Regions from separate parts of the Homo sapiens genome. Here region 1 is linked to region 2. The links are contacts of gene promoters, found by promoter capture Hi-C in human tissues and cell types (Jung and others, 2019). All regions are on one chromosome and are shown on one strand. Each heading gives the region's core, a stretch centred on a gene start or on the middle of the fragment in contact. The rest is flanking DNA. Distances are from core to core; before and after follow the strand shown. Region 1 overlaps RNF157 (ring finger protein 157). Region 2 holds the start of EVPL (envoplakin).

The links. Contacts are between HindIII fragments. The study calls those that stand out against the background at their distance.
Region 1: a fragment that was not itself captured here is called in contact with the fragment with the promoter of EVPL in region 2 in 1 of the 25 tissues and cell types used here (psoas muscle).

What each region holds. Positions count from the first base shown.
Region 1 is chr17:76,208,027-76,213,755 of GRCh38, forward strand. RNF157 (ring finger protein 157) reads right to left here. Exons shown (of 19, transcript NM_052916.3): 2 at 4,338-4,456. Among named protein-coding and RNA genes, the nearest start is that of RNF157, 30 kb to the right of the region's middle. The HindIII fragment of the contact is 4,899 bases long and covers 919-5,729 here.
Region 2 is chr17:76,023,988-76,029,665 of GRCh38, forward strand. EVPL (envoplakin) reads right to left here and starts at 3,319. Exons shown (of 22, transcript NM_001988.4): 1 at 3,114-3,319; 2 at 34-133. The coding sequence starts at 3,211. RefSeq lists an enhancer at 2,901-3,788. The HindIII fragment of the contact is 23,388 bases long and covers 1-5,678 here.

The DNA of each region.
Region 1 (5,729 bases), core at 2,118-4,617, 180 kb after region 2:
CACCTCAGTCTCCTGAGTAGCTGGGACTAGAGGCATGCACCACCACGCCTGGCTAATTTTTATCATTTTATATTTTGTAGAGATGAGGGTCTCGCTATGTTGCCCAGGCTGGTTTTCAATTTCTAGGCTCAAGAGATCTATAGGCCTCGGCCTCCTGAGCAGCTGGGACTACAGGCATGAGCCACTGTGCTGGCCTCATTCCACTTTCAGATACCAATATTTCAGAAATTGCACTTGAAGATCTACACAATGGACTCACAAACAGGATGTGGGCAGAGTTTCTGAGTACACCTGGCCTAATTAGCAAAAATGGCAGCATGGTTCAGGCTCTGGAGCCAGACTGTTAGGTTCCAATCCTGATCCCTTACAGGCTGTGCAGTCTTTAAACTCTCTGTGCCACATGTTCTTCACCTGTTGAATGAGGACCTTTTTCATCATGATGTGAGGACAAAATGAGACAACACAGATGAAAAGCTTAGAACAATCAGCCCTGGCAAAAACTAGGTGTTCAAATGTTAGCCATCATTATTATTATCAAATAACCTGTGGGGAAAAGAAAAAGAGAAACATGTGGCATTTATTCTCTATACTACATTTTTATGCAGCTATATGAAGTTACTCTGATTTGCTTTCCTAATATAAAATTATGTCTTTTAAAAACATTTGCCAGCGCGGTGGCTCACACCTGTAATCCCAGCACTTTGGGAGGCCGAGATGGGCAGATCACCTGAGATCAGGAGTTCAAGACCAACCTGTCCAACATGGTGAAACCCCATCTCTACTAAAAAAACACAAAAATTAGCCAGGTGTGGTGGCAGGCACCTGTAATCCCAGCTAGTCAGGAGGCTGAGGCAGGAGAATCACTTGAGCCTAGGAGACTGTGGCTGCAGTAAGCCAAGATCGTGCCACTGCACTCCAGCTTGGGTGACAGAGTGAGACTCTGCCTCAAAAAAAAAAAAAAATTCATTTGCTATGTGTAACATTAAGCATACTTAATGATTACTACATAAAAGCAACAACAAAAACTCCAATGTTGATGTTCTTTTTTTTTTTAAGTGGCATTTATTGATTGATTGATTAAGATGGAGGTCTTGCTATATTGCTCAAACTGGACTCGAATTCTCCTGGGCTCAGGTGATCCTCCCATCTCAGCCTCAGCCTCCTGAGTAGCTGGGACCACAGGCACATGCCACTGTGCCCAGCTTGATCTTCTTTGGGAAAAAGCCTCAACTTTAAGGTTAAGGCTGCTACCTAGCATTTCAGAAAGAGCTCAGTCATTCATAGGTCGGCATAGGCAAACTTAGGAAAAGTCTGCCAGCCAGCATAAACTTCAAGTTGAACCTAAAGCAGCATTTACTTCAAGCTTGTCCAACCTGCGGCCCAGGGGTAGATGGCTTTTAATGTGGCCCAACAGAAACTCGTAAACTTTCTTAAAACATTGTAAGATTTTTTTGCGTTTTTTTTTTTCTTTTTTAGCTCATCAGCTATCGTTACTGCTAGTGTATTCCGTGTGTGGCCCAATGTGACAATTCTTCTTCTTCCAATGTGGCCCAGGGAACCCAAAAGATTGGACATCCCTGATTTACTTATTTTTATATCATCTTTATGGACTGAAAAGGCCAAAATTTTTTTAAAAATATATAAACTATCTTTACATCAGATGAAAGGAAAAAGACAGAAACAGATGCAAACATCAAGTCCATGTTATTAATAGAAGAAACGGCTACTTTCATTTTTGTTTTTGTTTTTTTGAGACGGAGTCTCACTCTGTCGCCCAGGCTGGAGTGCAGTGGAATGATCTTGGCTTACTGCAACCTCCGCCTCCTGGGTTCAAGCGATTCTCCTGCCTCAGCCTCCTGAGTAGCTGGGACTACAGGCTCACACCACCACGCCCAGCTAATTTTTGTATTTTTAGTAGAGATGGGGTTTCACCACATTGGTCAGGATGGTCTCGATCTCTTGACCTTGTGATCCGCCCGCCTCGGCCTCCCAGAGTGCTGGGATTACAGACATGAGTCACCGTGCCCAGCAGAAAGGGCTACTTTCAAAGCACAAGCTGACTCCCTGTGAGTGAGGCAACATTTTTATCTGGCTCTATCAGAAAAAAAGAAAGATCTGTCTACTCTAATTACCAAGGCAGTAGTAACAAAATCAAAGAGTAGACATCTGATAAGTATTACTTGACATAACTTAACTTGAAGCAGACAAGATTTGGTATTTTGAAAAGTGTACTACTGGACGAAAAATTAGCAGAGGGGTCACTCCAGATAGAAAGGAAGAGAACCCGCCGGGCGCAGTGGCTCATGCCTGTAATCCCAGCACTTTGGGAGGCCAAGGTGGGCGGATCACGAGGTCAGATCGAGACCATCCTGGCTAACACAGTGAAACCCCGTCTCTACTAAAAATACAAAAAATTAGCCGGGTGTAGTGGCGGGTGCCTGTAGTCCCAGCTACTCAGGAGGCTGAGGCAGGAGAATGGCGTGAACCCGGGAGGCAGAGCTTTCAGTGAGCCAAGATCGTGCCACTGTACTCCAGCCTGGGCGACAGAGCCAGACTCCGTCCAAAAAAAAAAAAAAAAGAAAGAAAGAAAGAAAGAGAACAATGAAAACCAAAAAAATAATTATTTTTATGTTAAAGGTCAAGATGGAAGACCATCATCAGATCAATCTTCCTAAAAAAGCAATTTCTCCAGGTCACTCACCTACCTACAAGTCTTAAATATTCCTCACGGTCTACAGGAGAGAGTAAAAAACCTATCAAGGTAACACAGCCGCCACCTACCTTTCTCTTTTTTTTGAAACAGAGTCTCATTCTATCCCCTAGGCTGGAGCGCACTGGGGCAACCTCAGCTCACTGCAACCTCCACTTCCCGGGTTCAAGCGATTCTCCTGCTTCAGTCTCTGGAGCAGCTGGGATTATAGGGGTGTGCCACCACCCCGGGCTAATTTTTGTGTTTTTAATAGAGATAGGGTTTCACCATGTTGGCCAGGCTGGTCTTGAGCTCCCAACCTCAGGTGATCTGTCCACCTCGGCCTCCCAAAGTGCTGGGATTACAGGTGTTGGCCACTGTGCCTGGCCCACCTTTCCAATCGGGCCAGACTGGTTTCCTTATTTGTTCCAGGGAAGAACAAACCATGCTCATTTCAGCTCTGTATCCACAGCGCCTATCACAGTACCTGACACGCAGTAGTTGCTCAGTAAATGTTTGCCAATTCAACAACTTGAATGCTCTTAGGCCTGTGCCGTGCTCTACTCCTGGAAAGGCCTCATCCAACCCACCATTCTTCAAAGGCCAGTTCAACTCCCTGCACCTCTTCCCAGTGTAACACTGAAGCAACCTGCCCTTGCCATTGTCTTCTCCCACTCTCAATTCCCACCACATTCAATCACTTCTGATCTTTATTGTTAATTAAACATTTCCTGTTTTCTGTGTTTTGTCTGCTCCACCAAACTTGCAGAATATTTCAAGGCAGTGAGGAGCACTGGAAAGATTACTGATCTGTGACCAGGCAAACCTAGTTACATGACTTTGAGAAAAATGTATATAAAACCCTTAGAACAGTGCTTAGAACATAGTGTGCACTTCCTAGCTTCTGTCATTATTCATCTCTCTGAACACCTCAGTTCTCTCGCTTATAAAATAGAGTGATAAGTCCTAAGTCAAGTGGTCTTCATATGGAACAGGGGTCTCTAGGACCTTCCTAGCACACGGTAGCCACTCAATAGCCACCTGGCGGCTATTATTACAAAGCCTCCTGCATGATGCAGAGAAGGTGCGCAATAGAAATTTATGAGAAGGAACAAGTGAGAGAAATGTATTCTCATATCAACTCATATATCAAGAGAAAAATTTTCAGTCATTCATTCAACAATCATTTATTAAGGGCTTAACATTACGTGCCAGGCTTTGTTCTAGGTTTGGGATACTACAGTAAAAACAGTCCTTGCCTTATGAAACTTACGTTCTAGAGGAGGAGGCAGACAATAAGCAGAGAAAGAGACAAATCAATAAAAGGTTGGTGTTAAGTGCCATGAAGAAAAAAAAAAAAGGTAAGCCCTTGGAAAAGGGTTGCCTAAAGAGGTGACAGGGAGAGATCTGTCCTAGCTTAATTTGTGAGACTCATCCTCTCCCTCACAAGACTCCAGGAGCTCTTCCAGTCCTCTAGCAACAAGAGATCCCATACAACCAAGGAGGCTGCAGTTTGTCTTCTAGTGCATCTCTCTCAACTCAGACCAAGCTACAAACTGCTGAACAAGCAACTGCAAACTTATTTTTGTTACATTTTTTGAATTGGCCACTTAAGCTCCAAGTAGGAGTAAACTGATTACAGCCATACCACAACTGGTCTGTTCCCCAGAAAGTTCAGATCGCTGTTCTCTCCAAACAGGTAACCTTCAGGATGAGTTGAGTCAAACTTCTCTCCTCCCATAATGAAGTGGCTGGCAAAATAGCTTCCTAGAGAGGAACAAACAAAAAAAATCAAACAAGCAGAAAACAGTCAACCTAAATCTAGTAAAAAAAAAAAGCTGATTTTTAAAATGTTAACCTTTTGGGCTGTGCGTGGTGGCTCACACCTGTAATCCCAGCACTTTGGGAGGCTGAGGCAGACAGATCGCCTGAGATAAGGAGTTCGAGACCAGCCTGGCCAACATGGCAAAACCCTGTCTCTACTAAAAATGTAAAAATTAGCCGGGTGTGGTGGCACATGCCTGTAGTCCCAGCTACTCAGGAAGCTGAGGCAGGAGGATGGCTTGAACCCAGGAAACAGAAGTGCAGTGAGCCGAGATCCTAGCACTACACTCCAGTCTGGGCGACAGAGTGAGACTCTGTTTCAAAAAAACAAAAACAAAAAAGTTAACCCTCTGAATGAATAATTAGAGCAATTTCTAATCCCAGAGTGTTTTCTTTTCCTGATTTGGGACAATGGCACAAAATAAGTAAAATCATAGCAGGGAAAACCCCAGATACCAAACGTAGACTAGATCACTGTTTTCCTTTTAACATTCTTAACTGAATTCTTCTAATGATCTGTTTAAAATACCTCCAGCCAAAAGACCAAAAGGTTCTACAATGCACATTAATGATCATATATATTTTTTGGTTCCTGACTTTTGCCTTTAAACTTGAAGTAGTTATTCCATGTATTGAAGAATCTCAGCTACAGGTATCGGCATATACATACACTGTGATATTGTAAAATATATGTTTGATCTTCAACCCTATTTCCTGGAATGCAACTCTTAAAATCCTTGGAATATCCAGGCCGGCATGGTGGCTCATGCCTGTAATCCCAGCACTTTGGGAGGCTGAGGAGGGCGGATCACTTGAGGTCAGGAGTTAGAGACCAGCCTGGCCAACACGGTGAAACCCCATCTCTACTAAAAATACAAAAATTAGCCAGGCATGGTGGCATGCGCCTGAAGTCCCAGGTACTTGGGAGGCTGAGGCAGGAGAATCTCTCGAACCCGGGAGGCAGAGGTTGCAGTAAGCCAAGATCACACCACTACACTCCAGCCTAGGTGACAGAGCAAAACTCCATCTCAAAAAAAAAAAAAAAAAATGCTTGGAATATCCAAAGTGATGTCTTTTTTTTTTGTCTTTACATATGCTAATGAATTAACCACTGCCTGGCAGCCCCTAGGTAGCCTCAGGATGGCGGCTGGTCACTGGAAAGAAAAGGCAGGATTAGAGGGTGGGGACTTTCAGCCCATCCCCCAACCACTGAGGA
Region 2 (5,678 bases), core at 2,069-4,568:
TCCACGCCCTGCCAACTGCTGCCGGGGCCTCACCTGCTGCAGCCTCTTCTGCGTCTCCAGGATGTCCCGCTCCACCTGGTCGGCGTTGGCTTGCATGCGGGAGATGAGAAGGGCCAGCTCCTGGGTGGCAGCCCTAGTGTGTGGAGGGGACAGCGGGTAGCTCGGTGGAAGAGGCCCCTCTGTGCCCCATCCAGGTGGCATCCCCTGCCCTCCCTCCACCCCATCCTGCCCCCACAGCCTAGCTCACTGCCCTGACTTTGGGGTCTCTCTCTGCAGAAGGCTCTGTGAGCTAGTCCTGGTTGGGGGTGTTAGCACTGCCCCGCCACATGAGGGGTCAAAAGGTGAGGGTCTCAGGTTTGTGTGGTGCTGGGGAGGGGGCAGGCGGCCTCGGTGTCCCAGCCTTAGCCAGCTGTGCTGGCAGTGAGTTCCCGACCCCACCTAGCTACCTGCCACTTCCCTCCCCGAGCCAGTGAATCACCGGCTCAGCCACTAGCACCTGAGCCAGCCTGGCTGGGCCCTGGGAGGGGTAGTTGGGCTGGCTGGGGCAGGGAGGCAGCAGCATGTCCCCCATCCCCACCTCCTCGCACTCCAGCCCTGTGTTCCCCTATACCTCCTCCACCCCAGGGAGCCTTGCCAGCATGCTGGCTTCAGTAGCCATCTAGAGGAGCCTCACACTGTCGGAGCCGGGGAGGTGGGGCAGGCGCAAGAGACTACTGGGCACCCTAACATTCTCCAGAGTTGAGGGTTCAAAGCCCAGATTGGGCTCTGACTTGCTCTGAGTCACATGGTCAGGGGTGGAGGGGAAACCTTGCTTCCACCCCAGGGCTTTTTCTGTGCATTCGCCCTGCAGCCTCCATAGAGCACCTGCTGTGTGCATGCACTCACTGTGCGGAGGTCACAAGGTCAAGCAGACCTAAAAGAGGGCAGATTGGTCCAAGCCTTATGAGCACAGTGCCTTATGGGGGATCATTATGCTGGGGCAGGAGAAGCCTTGAACTGGGTCAAAGGATGGGCCCCCCCAGGCAAAGGGACAGTGCTGGTGAAGGCACAGCAGTCTGGAAGAACTCTGTGGCCAAGACACCCTGGTTTCATCTTTCTCCATCAGAAAGATGATGGACTTGACCTTGGTCAAGTTACTCAACCTCTCTGTGCCTGAGGTTCCTCACTTGTAAAGCGGGATTTTAATAAAAATATCTATGCCTTAGGGCTATTGTGAGCATTAATTGAATTTATCCATCTGAAACGTCCAGTGCAGGCCTGGTGCAGGGTCGGCACCCAGCACGTGTTAGTTTTTATCCCATTAGAGGGCTAGTGCCTTGAAGGCAGGGGCTTGTTGGTTCTGTCTACAGTGACATCTCCAGTGCCTAGAACAGTCCTGGCATACAGTAAGTGCTCAGTAAGTTCATGTCAAACGAGTGGATCGCACGTGAGGGGAGAGCCAACAGGGCCCTGAGGACGGAGCTGCCCCAGGCCAGGAGCGCACTGCTGGGGAGCCTGCCTGGACAGTGGGAGCTGCAGGTGCTGGGCCCTGGGCGCCCCTCCTCAGGTCCCGCCTCCTGGGATGGCTGCTCCCACCGGGAGCTGCACACTCCACCCTGGGTGGGGCTCAGGTGCCCCAGGGAGGACAGGTCACTCAGCGAGAGTGTTAGCTGAGAGTCTTAACCACTGTCTTTCCCGTCCGCCCAGACACCCAGCCTCGGTGTCTGTTGGTGCCTTGATCCCTATCGGGGTAATGGGCACCCCCACTCCCACACCAGCCTTTCATCCCTGAGGTCATCTCGACACCCTGGACCCAGGCGGGCTGCTGCCTCCTCTGCAGACGAGCTGAAGCCAGTGAGTGGGAAGAACACCGCCCAATCCATCCACAGATTGCTGAGGCTGGGCTCCAGAGAGCCGGGTGGTCCAAGGGAGGCCCAGTGCCCCCTGCACCACACCCACTGGAAAAGGAAGCCCCAGCTCTATTTTGTTTTAACAGACAGGGTCTTGCTCTGTCACCCAGGCTAGAGGGCAGTGGAGTGATCACGGCTCACTGCAGCCTCGACTTCCCGGGCTCAAGTGATCCTCTCACCTCAGCCTCCCAAGTAGCTCTGACTACAGGCATGCGCCACTACATCCAGATAATTTTTGTATATTTTTTGTAGAGACGGGATTTCATCATGTTGCCCAGGCTGGTCTCGAACTCCCGGGCTCAAGTGATCTACCCGCCTCGGCCTCCCAAAGTTGTAGGATTGCAGGCGTGAGGTATTGCGCCAGGATTTTTTTTTTTTTTTTTTTTAAGACAGAGTCTCAGTCTGTCACCCAGGCGGGAGCGCAGGGGTGTGATCATGGCTCACTGCAGCCTCAAACTCCTGGGCTCAAGCAATAGGCACGAGCCACCATGCCTGGCTATTTTTTATTTTTATTTTTTTACAGAAACAAGATCTCCCTATGTTGTCCAGGCTGGTCTCGAGCTCCTGGGCTCAAGGAATCCTCCCGCATTGGCCTCCTGAAGTTCGGGGATTATAGGCGTGAGCCACGGCGCCCGGCCATGAACCCCTAACTCTTCAATACAACAAGGCCCTGGGTGAGAACTCTGGGGAGGGCTGTGGCTTAGGCAGGAGGCAGCACAGCCCCTGCATCCCTACCCCAGGGATCCCACCCCGTCCCCTCAGTCCTCATGCCCTGTACCCAGGCTCCAGGGGTCATCCCAGCCAAGTAGAGCCTTGGGGCAGAGCTGCAGTCAGGCAGCCAGGCTCTCCTGTCTCCCAGGCTCTCCTGTCTCCCAGGCTCTCCTGTCTCCCAGCCTCTGGCAGAGGAGGGCCTCCGTGCAGGCTCCTGTCCAGCACTTCTCCCGCGAAGCGGCCTCAATCCGTGGCCCTCAGGCCCCCTTAGAGGATGTAGGGAGCCCCAGGTCATCCCCTGCCTCCTGCCAGGGCTGAAGTTCGGCCTGGGCCTGCGGCTCCCAAGGCAGGGAGAGAGTCCATCCCTGGGCCCTTTGGCCTCAGGACACCAAATGCCAGCACGGGGCTGGTCCTGGGCTCTGGGCCGCCGCCGCCGCCAGGTGGCTCAAGGACCTGGGCCTGGCACCACCCCCACCCCAGTTCCCCGGCTCCCCATCCCCCAGTCCCACTTACCGGCTGTGCCTGCTGGGGGAGCCTTTGGGGGACCCCTTGGCGGGGGAGCCCTTGGGGGACCCCTTCCCCTGGGAGCCTTTGCTCAGCCCCTTGAACATGGTCGTAAAGGCAAGTGCTGGCTCAGGCTGGGCTTGGCTGGCGAAAGACGGCAGGAGGGCAGGTGGGAGGCAGCGGGCGTCCTCACTGGCTGGTCAGCTAAGTCTGGCGAGGTGGGGCGGCTGGGCACTGGGGAAGGGAGTTTCTGGGAGGCCCCTCCTTGCAGGTGAGGCAGCGGGCGGGCGGCCGGGTCCCAGGCCTGACGCGCATGCACCCACAACGGCCACACTCATGCCTCCTCCTGCACAACCAGTCTGGGAGGAAAGGGCACAGCCCTGAGGGCGGGGCCGAGCCTGCCCGACTCCCACAGAAGGTTTGGACTTGTTACACCCACATGCCTAGGGGAGCGCAGCGGCGATCACACCCAGATAGGGAAGGAGTTGGGCCAGGACAGACAGGGCTGGAGACAGACGTGCACATGCAGGTGCAGGCTCAGCGGAGAGGCCCCAGCCCCGGAGCTCAGGATTAATAAACACCTCCAGCCAGCTCAGAGGACCTGCTGCCAGGCAGGCCCCCACCCACAGCTCTCAATCCCCCAGGAGAGGAGGGGGTGTCCTGCCAGCCCAGGGCCTGACTCTCTGTTCTCCACTGACATGATGGGGCAGTCAGGGGACGTTCACTCCAGACAACTGGCACAAGGTCCATTTTTTTTTTTTTTAAGAGACAAAGTCTCGCTCTGTCACCCAGGCTGGAGTGCAATGGCATGATCTCGGCTCACTGCAACCTCTACCTCCCGGGTTCAAGCGATTCTCCTGCCTCAGCCTCCTGAGTAGCTGGGATTACAGGTGCCCGTCACCACGCCCAGAAAATTTTTGTATTTTTAGCAGAGAAGGGGCTTCACCATGTTGGCCAGGCTGGTCTCGAACTCCTGACCTCAAGTGATCCACCCGCCTCGGCCTCCCAAAATGCTGGGATCACAGGCATGAGCCACCACGCCTGGCCCCATTTTATAAAGTGTGCACAGTGCAGCAGCACCAGGGCTGGCTTCAGGCGCCAGTAAGCCTGGGCTCTGGCTGAGGCCCGGGAGCCTGATGCACTTGGCTTTTCCTACCTGCCTCTTCCCCCACCCAGAAATGGCCCCTGGTGGCTTTTATGAAGTCAGATTGAGTGGCAGACAGTGATGCCAGCTTATTGGTCTTTTCCTCACACTGGGTACCAGGGCTGCTGCCTTTTCCTTCTGTGGTGGCCCTGAGCGTCTTCAAGAAAGAGGCGATGGCACCCCCCTTTCCAGGCGCTCATTTCACTGGCCCAGCGTAACAGGCCCCTTCTGCGGGGTGGCGTCGCTTTCCAGGTCATTCCTGAAACCCCCGTGGTTTTAGTGGAAGGAGGGCTTGAGGGGGAGCCAGGGGATGGAACAGACTGACTGGGTGACATCACCTGGACATCCTGGCAGGCCTCGCTGAGGACAAAGCACAGCCTGGCAGGAGAGAAAGATCCCAGCAGACGGGGGAGACCAGGGACCGACGCCTGATACTGGCCTCAGGCCCCCATGGGATAGAAAAGTCCTGCGCCCTTTTTGGCTGAATTTCATGGGAAGTCCCTGAACTCGGCCGTGGAGAGGGGATGCAGGACACCCCCATTCCTAGAGGTGGAGGAGCTGACAGGGGCAGTAGGGGTGGGGAGGGCAGTGGCAGCCCCTGACAGCAATGAGGAAACAAAGAGGTCTCCAGTGTCCTTGGCTCCCAGCCCGTGTCTTGAGTGAGATGGCACCAGGGATGACTGGCCACTCAGCCTCTGCCCCAGCCTGCTCCCACTTTATTCCTGGTGACACTTGTCTTCTAGCCACTCATTGCACACCTGCAATCAGCTGTCTTCAGAAAGGAGCCGTTTGTGTGAATGACTACGGGGGCCAACGCCAGCCTCACCCCTGGCCTCCCTGACTCGCCTTTTTCTTTTCTTTCTTTTTTTTTTGAGACTGAGTCTCGCTCTGTCTCCCAGGCTGGAGTGCAGTGGCGCCATCTCGGCTCACTGCAACCCCTGCCTCCCAGGTTCAAGTGATTCTCCTGTCTCAGCCTCCCGAGTAGCTGGGATTACAGGCGCCCGCCACCACGCGCGACTAATTTTTTGTATTTTTAGTAGAGACAGGGTTTCACCACGTTGGCCAGGCTGGTCTCGAACTCCTGACCTCAGGTGATTCGCCCACCTCAGCCTCCCAAAGTGCTGGGATTACAGGCATCAGCCACTGAGCCCGCCTGCTTCACCTTTGAGCTTGGCCCCTCCCTGGGAGGTGGCAGTCATTGGAAGTGGGGCCCTGGGGAGAGGTGTCCAGACTCCAGACAGAGAGCAGCCGGGTGAGGCCCCTGAGCTGTGCAGGGGGAGGTGCCCTGGGCGGAGGGCAGCGAGTCTGAGGTCTGGAACACTCGAGCTTCCTCCCCTCTTCAGAAGCCCTCCAGGAAGGAAATGAGCACTGCAGGGGGCCCTCACACGCCCCGGAGATTAAGGGCTAACTGATTTACTGCAAGAAAAACA